2 separate regions of the Homo sapiens genome follow, and region 2 is linked to region 1. The links are contacts of gene promoters, found by promoter capture Hi-C in blood cells and fetal thymus (Javierre and others, 2016). All regions are on one chromosome and are shown on one strand. Each heading gives the region's core, a stretch centred on a gene start or on the middle of the fragment in contact. The rest is flanking DNA. Distances are from core to core; before and after follow the strand shown.

Region 1 (4,641 bases), core at 1,084-3,583:
TTGTAAGTCTCTTTTGAAAGTGCCTTAAAATTCACTGGTAAGCAATATTCAATGTTTTATGTAACTTGTTCTATGCTATAATAATTTAAGCTGAAAAGTTATTATTAGCTGGACTTTTAAAATAAATACAAAAATGAAGTTTTAATACTTCTATAATCAAAAGAAGAAAACAAAAAAAAATACTGACCATAATTTTGGAGGAGTTCCTCTTTGGTGGAAACAATCAGAGATCGGTCTTTTGCTGATAGAACTATTGCAAGGCACACGTAATGTTGCTCAGAAGAATTTGCTCGGCGCACAACAGTAAGAAGTCTGACAGGGTGGTTATTTGGAGGAGAACTAAAATGTTCAATACAAAACCAGCTAGAGTAACTTAAGCCGGAGGGAGGAGGGAAGAATCTTTCACCTACAGTAAAAATTAAAAAAAAAAGTCTGTGTTGATTAATATTTATATTTTTTAAAAGATGCCAACAAAAGCAAATAAACTCTAAATTATATATAATCTACTAGAAAAAAAACTCATAAGCAGAAAGCAAATATTACTTACCAGAACCAATGCCACTGACCACAGCCCCATCAATAAGACCTGTTGTGACGGTATTATTTGTAGGAGCATTATGAGGGGCCAAACTGGGCAAAAAAAGACATCTATTAAAGAAAAGACAACATACATATTAGAGATCAATGACTCCTTCTCTTAACACTGTGCACTTACCACAGTGAAATAACTGCCAGTATTTAATGGTGACTAGAGAAAAGATCATGGAATAAATCTGGATGCCTCGCAAAGCCCTTCCCTTCTTTTAATTATGTAAGGGTATCAAAAGACATAATTTTAAAATCTCCCAAAATAACATTTTTAACTTAAAATAAAAAAAAATGAAGATACAAAATGCATATGGCAACATACTCTAACGTATAAACCCAATCAAGACATTAGAACAATTTCATCACTGAAGGAAAACTCCCATGTGCCCCTTACTGTCACTCTCTTGTTACCACTGATTGCTTTTGACTATTCCCAATCATGTTTTAATCTATTGTTTGATAATGACCCATGATAATATTCTTAAAACACAGAGGTTTCAATCAATATAAGAATCCCACAAACAACTAGTATAGATAAAAATTATGAATTAACACTCTAAGCCTGGGCACAGTGGCTCACGCCTATAATCCTAGCACGTTGGGAGGCTAAGGTGGGCAGATCACTTGAGGTCGGGAGTTCGAGACCAGCCTGGCCACTATGGCGAAACCCCATCTCCACTAAAAATACAAAAATCAGCCAGGCGCGGTGGCGTGCGCCCATAATCCCAGCTACTTGGGAGGCTGAGGCAGGAGAAATGCTTGAACCTGAGAGGCGGAGGTTGCAGTGAGCCAAGATCGCGCCATTGCACTCCAGCCTGGGTGACAGGGCAAGACTCTGACTCAAAAGGAAAAAAAAAAAACAAAACTCTAATAGCTAACAGATCTAGCTACCAGATCTATTAGCATTTGTGTCTATTTTAGGCTGTTGAACTTCATGAATTCTTATAGATTTTTTAGATTCATTATTGCCATTTCTGTTACTATAATCTTTTCTGCCACTTGAAATAATTTATTCATTTGAAGTGACAGTCATTGAATATTTATAATGTATAAATTATTATACTAGGTAATTTGAAGGATAGATGATGATAAAACCCAAAGAGTTTTCAATCTAATTTTAATTTATATATTATCTATACATTTATATTTATTACATTAGATGTTGGCAGACTTTTTCTGGAAAGGGCCAAATCATAAATATTTAATGCTTTGTGAACCAGGCAGTCTCCATCATGACTACTCAACTCTGACACTCTAGCACAAAAGCAGCCATAGGAAATATAAATGAGTGTGGCTGTTTTCCAATAAAACTTCATTTACAAAAAAAAAAAAAATTTGCAAAAGTGTTACTAACAAAACAGATTTGGTCCATGGGCCTAAGATTTTGGATTCCTATGTCATATCAATTTATTTTGTATAACAAACAAAAATAATTAAATGTAGTAATCTTAAAATAGCATGCTCAAAAAACTCAATAATTAAAAAATATTAAGTATGGTAAAATATATTTTAATTAAGTATATTTAAAACCAAAGATCTATTTGTAAAGGCAAGTATGACGCATAAAACCATAAAGGTTGGCTTCCTTGCAAATTTCTTACCCAAACCCTTCAAGTGATGTGTCAAATTCAACAAAAGCTGGAGTAACTGATGACCCATGAAGTCTGATGTCATGTGGGGTTGTCATGGAGACCAGACACTTCACCCTGGTCAGGGGTACAGTACTTCCTTCCGCAGATTTTACCAGGCTCTTGCTTATCCGGTAATGGTTATCTTCATGTAAGCTAAAAACATTATCAGTACCCAGACCTTCCAGAGATGTGATCATACTACCTGTAAGTCAAGGAAATCTCTTGGGAAAATGTCATATGGAATTTCAAAATAACTTTACAAGGCTGATTTATTTGTAAATACCACTTCAGTTTCAATAGACAATAATTTTTTTTTAAGTGCCAAGATCATTATCCAGTTTTAATGTACATTTACTTTTAAACTTAATAGCATGCGTTTCCTTTTTTACTAAAGCAATATGCACACTGCAGAAATGTTGGAAACTAGAGTATAAATAAAAATAAACATCTCAAATAATTGTCATCAAAGCCACTGATACAATGTAATTTAATTATAAATCTCAGTTAATAGTTTACAAATCAGGAAATACTTTTATTTCATAAAACTATGATTTATTAATTCTCTTTGAGGGAAAAGTAAACAATTTTAGACCATTAAAATGAAAAGAAATAGGTCATCTTTATTATAAAACAAATTAGAGATAAATGGCAGAAACTTGCTTCTCCCATTTTTTCCCCATTATTAATTCTTTCCTTACAATTATTAGAACTAAATGCATGATCGTAAAAGTACTTTAATTTAAAGATTCCCATATTTATAAAAAGGGTAACAATTTCAAGAATAAAAAGACAAATTCTAAACAGATTGTCATTATCTCTCCAGGGACACATTACAAATGTAATGAAGAAAATATTCTCTCTCGAAATAAACTACATGAGTATAGGAAACTGTTTTCCTCCTAAATGTGCTGGATATTCAGGCAACTACAAAGATATTTCAAATATTCTCTTAGGGAAAGGAACTATTTTTGTTTCTACTCTTAGCAAAGGAAATCACAACTCAATTCTTATTTATTTATTTATTTATTTATTTATTTATTTATTTTTTGAGACGGAGTCTTGCTCTGTCGCCCAGGCTGGAGTGCAGTGGCGCGATCTCGGCTCACTGCAAGCTCTGCCTCCCGGGTTCACGCCATTCTCCTGCCTCAGCCTCCCGAGTAGCTGGGACTACAGGCGCCTGCCACTGCGCCCGGCTAATTTTTTTTGTATTTTTTAGAAGAGACGGGGTTTCACCATGGTCTCGAACTCCCGACCTCGTGATCCGCCCGTCTCGGCCTCCCAAAGTGCTGGGATTACAGGCGTGAGCCACCGCGCCGGGCCTGTTTCCCTATTTAAATAATAAACCCTTCTCTTTCTTTGCTTTCACAAACTTCTTGAAATAATATTCATCCCCTACATGATTTTCATTCATAAAATAAATCAAAAAAGGGAATTTCAAAACTTACTTCTCATTTCTGGTTCATAACTCAGTGAACTTGGTTTGTGGACCCTATATTGTTTTAGCAGTTTTTTGTCCCAGGCACCACAATTTAAAGGACTTGCCAAACGTAAAAACTCCCTAAGAAAGAGACAAAGCAAAGTTATTCCTTGATTGAGATTATTATATAATTCATTAACCAAATATTCAGAAAAAGAATTTAATAAATTCCAACAGACTAATTACAATAAAAAAATGCAAAGTATAATAAAACAATATAGTGTTAGTTTTACATTTAATCACCATATAGCTATATATCTGACACATATTTTTTAGAATGTTTTTTAGACAGTTATTCCTTCGTTGAGAATATTATAATTCATAAACCAAACATTTTCAAAAAAGGAATTTAATAAATTCCAACAGACTAATTACAATACAAAAAATGCAAGTATAGTAAAACATACACAGTGTTAGTTTTACATCTAATCACCATATAGCTATATATCTGCTATACATTTTTATAAATTCATTTTTTAGAAGTTAATAATATTTAAGAAGAACCCCAACTCAAATATTTCTAAAACCAAACTCATCACCTTATATCCAAACCCAGGGCATTTCTTATGTTCTGCATCTCACTGAAATGTGTTTTTGTTCCTTCTTTAACTTTCCATATTCAGAAAATCAGAAAATCCTGCTATTTCTACTCATAAAAATATGGAATCTGCTCTTTTCTCTCATTCTTGCTGCTATCACCCAGACCATATTATTTTACTATTCCTAAAACAGAGTCTTAATTACCTCCTGTGACACCAATATTGCCCCAACTCAATCCATTCCTCACTATAGTCAGTATCTCACAGAACTTAAATCTACACAGTGTCACTCTATTGCTTAAGACTCTTCCATGGCTGTCCATTTCTGTAGTTGAAAACACAAAACAGCTAGCATTCAGTACCATACATGAGATGATTTCTACTGTACTCTCCAGCTTCACTGCTC
Region 2 (4,830 bases), core at 2,066-4,565, 78 kb before region 1:
TGAGGCAGGAGAATGGCATGATCCCAGGAGGCAGGGCTTGCAGTGAGCCAAGATCGCGCCACTGCACTCCAGCCTGGGCAACAGAGCGAGACTCTGTCTCAGAAAAAAAAAAAAAAAAAAAAAAGAAGTTAATTTGCTAACACTTTTAGAGTCATGAATTCCCTGCAGATTAAGCTACACAATAAATAGATATTTCTTATTCTGCTCAATTTATTTCTAAAGTCTTTAGTAACAGAATAAAAAAAGTAATTATAATTTTATAATTATAATTTTATAAAATTATAGTAAGGATGTAATTTTTATATTAGAAGAAAACTAAAATGTTGATTTGGATAGCTACAGGGAAAGATGGATAACAAAGATAATTACCCAAATTTTAGGCTGTGTTTAAACAAGAGAAATGCATTATACAAAATTATGCATCCACATGACCTGAGTCTGTCTATAACCATATCTAAGGATTATTCTAAATGCAGATCCTGGCCAGCCACGGTGGCTCACGCCTGTAATCCCAGCACTTTGGGAGGCCGAGGCAGGCGGATCACGAGGTCAGGAGATCAAGACCATCCTGGCTAACATGGTGAAACCCCGTCTCTACTAAAAAACAGAAAAAAATTAGCTGGGCGTGGTGGCAGGCGCCTCTAGTCCCAGCTATGCAGGAGGCTGAGGCAGGAGAATGGTGTGAACCAGGGAGGTGGAGCATGCAGTGAGCCTAGATCGTGCCACTGCACTCTAGCCTGGGTGACAGAGCAAGACTCCATCTCAAAAAAAAAAAAAAAAAAATGCAGATCCTATTGAGGGTTTCCATGGCATGTATCAATTTTAAAATAATACATTTTCGGCCGGGCGCGGTGGCTCACGCCTGTAATCCCAGCACTTTGGGAGGCCAAGGCGGGCGGATCATGAGGTCAGGAGATCGAGACCATCCTGGCTGACACAAGGAAACCCCGTCTCTACTAAAAAAATACAAAAAAATTAGCCTGGCGTGGTGGCGGGCGCCTATAGTCCCAGCTACTTGGGAGGCTAAGGCAGGAGAATGGTGTGAACCCGGGAGGCGGAGGTTGCAGTGAGCTGAGATCATGCCACTGCACTCCAGCCTGGGCGACAGAGTGAGACTCTGTCTCAAAAAATAAAAATAAAAAATAAAAAATAAAATAAAATAAAACAATACATTTTCAGAATAAAGAAACATGATAAAACAGTACTACTAAATTGACTCACCTGCAGGAGATATCTCCTTTTATGAACTTCCTTGATATCTTCATATGCAAAAATGCTGCATGTTCTCTTGAGTTGACTAGGGCCTTGCCTGGCTCCTCTAGGAATAATAGGCTCATGCATACTACAGGCAGCCAAGAGAAAAAGCAAATAAAAACACAGCAAGGGATAAATTCACTGTTCCATAAAGGGCGTGCTAATTTTAAACACATGAACAGGATGGAGGAGTAATATATATCAGAATTTTCAGTTAAAAAATATATTTACAAGAAGAATTTGTTAGCTACCTGAGATACAAGGAACCCCCTTTGATGAATATAATTTTAAAAATCCCCTTATTACTGTCAGGACCAAGTTATCTACCAGACATGGTTAGCACAGTGCCTCAGCTCACATATTTTGGGGCCCAAGAAAATGTCTTAATTTCTTTTAAAAATCAGAAAAAAAATCAACTTTTAGGTAGAAAAACACATTTTAATATAAGATTATATTTATACCATTAGCCACAACATACAATTTTAAATATTTTTGTATGGAAAAAGGACCCACGAAAGACTTCATGTGACCCTGATTGTTGTTGACAGTAATTATTTGAAATATCTCCTAGGAATGAACTACAGAAACAATGTCTGTGTTCAAGGGTGCTAGGAAAATGTTAAAGGAAGAGAAGCAGCCTGTTGATCTTCTAAGCCCTAAGCTTCTTAACTTTCTTCTAGGTTGGTCTGTCTCCTGAGTTTTCCACTACTCACTACCACTTTCATCACAGGACTGGTAGAAGAAAAGGAAGATGCCTACAACTCAGTCAGTAAATCTCTGCTAATGCTTTAGTCATGCTGTTTCTAGGGTGCTCCGAGTACCTGATGATGCTCTTTCATTTTTAAGAGTATTCTTCACGCCTGTAATCCCAACACTTTGGGAGGCCGAGGCGGGCGGATCACAAGGTCAGGAGATTGAGACCATCCTGGCTAACATGGTGAAACTCTGTCTCTACTAAAAATACAAAAAATTAGCCTGGCGTGGTGGCGGGCGCCTGTAGTCCCAGCTACTCGGGAGGCTGAGGCAGGAGAATGGCATGAACCCGGGAGGCGGAGCTTGCAGTGAGCCGAGATTGCGCCACTGCCACTCACTGCACTCCAGCCGGGGTGACAGAGTGAGACACTGTCTCAAAAAAAAAAAAAAAAAAAAAAAAAAGAGTATTTTCTCTACAATTGTATATCTGCTATATTTTTTAAAAGGACCATTTATAAATTCAGAATAAATTTGTAAATATATACATTATAATATAAATAACTCAGAATGCACAGAAATAAATGTTATTTAGCTTTCATCTTGATAAATAAGCCAAACATTTTCATTATTACCTTAAAATAACTGAATATCATCTTTGTGAATATGTAATGATGAATGCACACAAACCGAGAGATAACATTACCTAGAACACAATTTTTTGATTAAAAAAGAAAACTGCAAATACATTTTCTGTCTTCTAAAGATAGCCATACATTATGTCTCTTCATTCATTTACTTACTTTGGAGGTAAGGTTTCAATATCTCTTATTTCCCTGGTTGCTGTCATGGTAAATCCATCAATCACATAAAAATGCTCTTTACCAAAAAGAAGGAGCCCCTCACTGGTATCTAGGCCCTGGACTCGAGCACAGCGGTACATGTGTTGGATCTATAAAGAAGCCCACAAACATTCATTAATATAGGCTTTTTGTAAAGATCAATTTTTGTTAGACTACTACGGCATCCCTAGAGCTAAGCATATTAAATCAGAGTTTAAGCATATTGAGAAGATTAAGCTTAGATTACAGTCTGATTTACATCTGACTAGAGTAAAACTAAACAATTCACTCATACCCATCCACTCATCTGCCAATCCCATCTCTCTCAATATTCCGGGTGTACTTTATGTAGGCCAGGCAAACATGCGCTAGCTTCTAAAAGTCAAGAACATTAGATAAGGCTCCTGCTCTCATGAAGGGAGACAGACACAGCAAACTTGGCAGGAAAGGGAATTGAGGCATACATGTAAGGAGATTAGAATAGGATTGTGTTCTATGTGAGGCAAGATGATACAGAGTGAAAATTGCAGGGCCTGCTAACTCAGGGTAAATTTCCAGTTCTGCCACTTTGTAGACTGGGTCAAGTTTCTTAATTTCTCTGAGCCTCCATGTCTTTTTTTGTAAGTTTCTAATTGGCTTGTTGTGAAAAATAAGTGAGATAATGTACATAATCAGGTTAGGAATTATTGGTTGCTTTCTGTTCCACACAGTTTACCTTCTTTTTCCATCATACCCCCTGGAAATGGAACTGTAGAATTTGTTTCTATTCATTCCCCACCTGGATTCTGCTCCCTGGAGACTACTGTACTATTGCAAAAAGCCAAGCTTGGCAGAAGTTGTATTTTCCTCATAGGAAGGAGCATTGCTAAATCTCTCAAAGTAAGTATTGTTTTCTCCCAAAGGGCAGTATCTAATTCTTTCTAAAAACTCTTTCTTGCTTAAACTTAGTTCAACATGAGTCAAGACAAAAATCAGCAATTAAATCAGAGTCAAACACATGTCAGTTTGAATACACTTCCTGCACTATTAAAGCAACCAGAGCAAAAACTGTACTCATGAGATTAAAAGTTTTAAAAATGAAAGCATTGTAATAGGTTTTCTAAAATATCTAAATATAAGTCAATTTTCATTGCTACATTTGATCAATCCTGATGTACTTTAAAAGTTTCTCTATTGCAGTATATTTTATGCATATACATACATACATACATATATTATATATAAACACATACATATACACACACACACAAAATGTTTATTTCCTAAGTGTATGGCTGGATGAATTTTCAAATGCTAAAAATTTTGTGTGACCAGCATCCAGACCAAGAAACAGAATGCTCCCCAGTTCCTAGAAGCCTCTCTTGTGCTTCCTTCATACCTGGTGTACTTTTATAGTTACATGATCTTTTCTAATGTATTGTCATTCAATATTAATTAGGGCATACATTTGAACGGAACTGTTTTGATTATACTCAAATTTCTAGTGACTACTTCTTAGAGGGTAAGAACTCAAAGGTTATACCAAGATCTAATATAATAGGCAAAAGAACATCCTTTAAAAAGGTGATATTCATGACACATTCAAGTCATTCATTCCCTTGTTTATTAAACCAATCATTCCTTCATTCAAAGGTTTACTGGTTGTCTATTATGCAACTGGACCTGTGTAAGGCAATGAGATAGAGATAAGACACAGTTTGCCTATAAGGAGCTCGACATCTAGGACGAGAAAGAAAGATACTGGAACAAGTAATTATGACATGATAATACAGAGTGATATATATAAGGCATCATGAAAGTATAGAGGAAGGGTATGCAACCAAGCCTGAGTAGCAAAAGAGTCAAAAAAAGCTTCCTATGTTTGAATATTACAAACATCCAGATAAATGGGATTATAACACACAGGATTTATTAGGATAAAGGTTATGCAAGTAAAAGGAAGGGGGCATTTTGGCAGAAAAAAACAATATGAGTGACACGGTTTGCATATGTGTCCCCTCCACATCTCATGTTGAAATGTGATCCCCATTGTTGGAGGTGCGGC

The links. The method cuts DNA at HindIII sites, captures the fragments that hold promoters and counts their contacts. A CHiCAGO score of 5 or more calls a contact.
Region 2: a contact is called between a fragment that was not itself captured here and the fragment with the promoter of WDFY3-AS1 in region 1, in 1 of 17 cell types (M2 macrophages). The highest score is 5.2, in M2 macrophages.

Annotation. Positions count from the first base shown.
Region 1 is chr4:84,794,332-84,798,972 of GRCh38, forward strand. WDFY3-AS1 (WDFY3 antisense RNA 1) reads left to right here and starts at 2,334. Exons shown (of 3, transcript NR_046707.1): 1 at 2,334-2,423. WDFY3 (WD repeat and FYVE domain containing 3) reads right to left here. Exons shown (of 68, transcript NM_014991.6): 18 at 3,665-3,777; 19 at 2,190-2,421; 20 at 548-648; 21 at 188-406. The HindIII fragment of the contact is 11,821 bases long and covers 1-4,641 here.
Region 2 is chr4:84,715,675-84,720,504 of GRCh38, forward strand. It overlaps WDFY3 (WD repeat and FYVE domain containing 3), which reads right to left. Exons shown (of 68, transcript NM_014991.6): 48 at 2,748-2,896; 49 at 1,222-1,342. Among named protein-coding and RNA genes, the nearest start is that of WDFY3-AS1, 79 kb to the right of the region's middle. The HindIII fragment of the contact is 588 bases long and covers 3,022-3,609 here.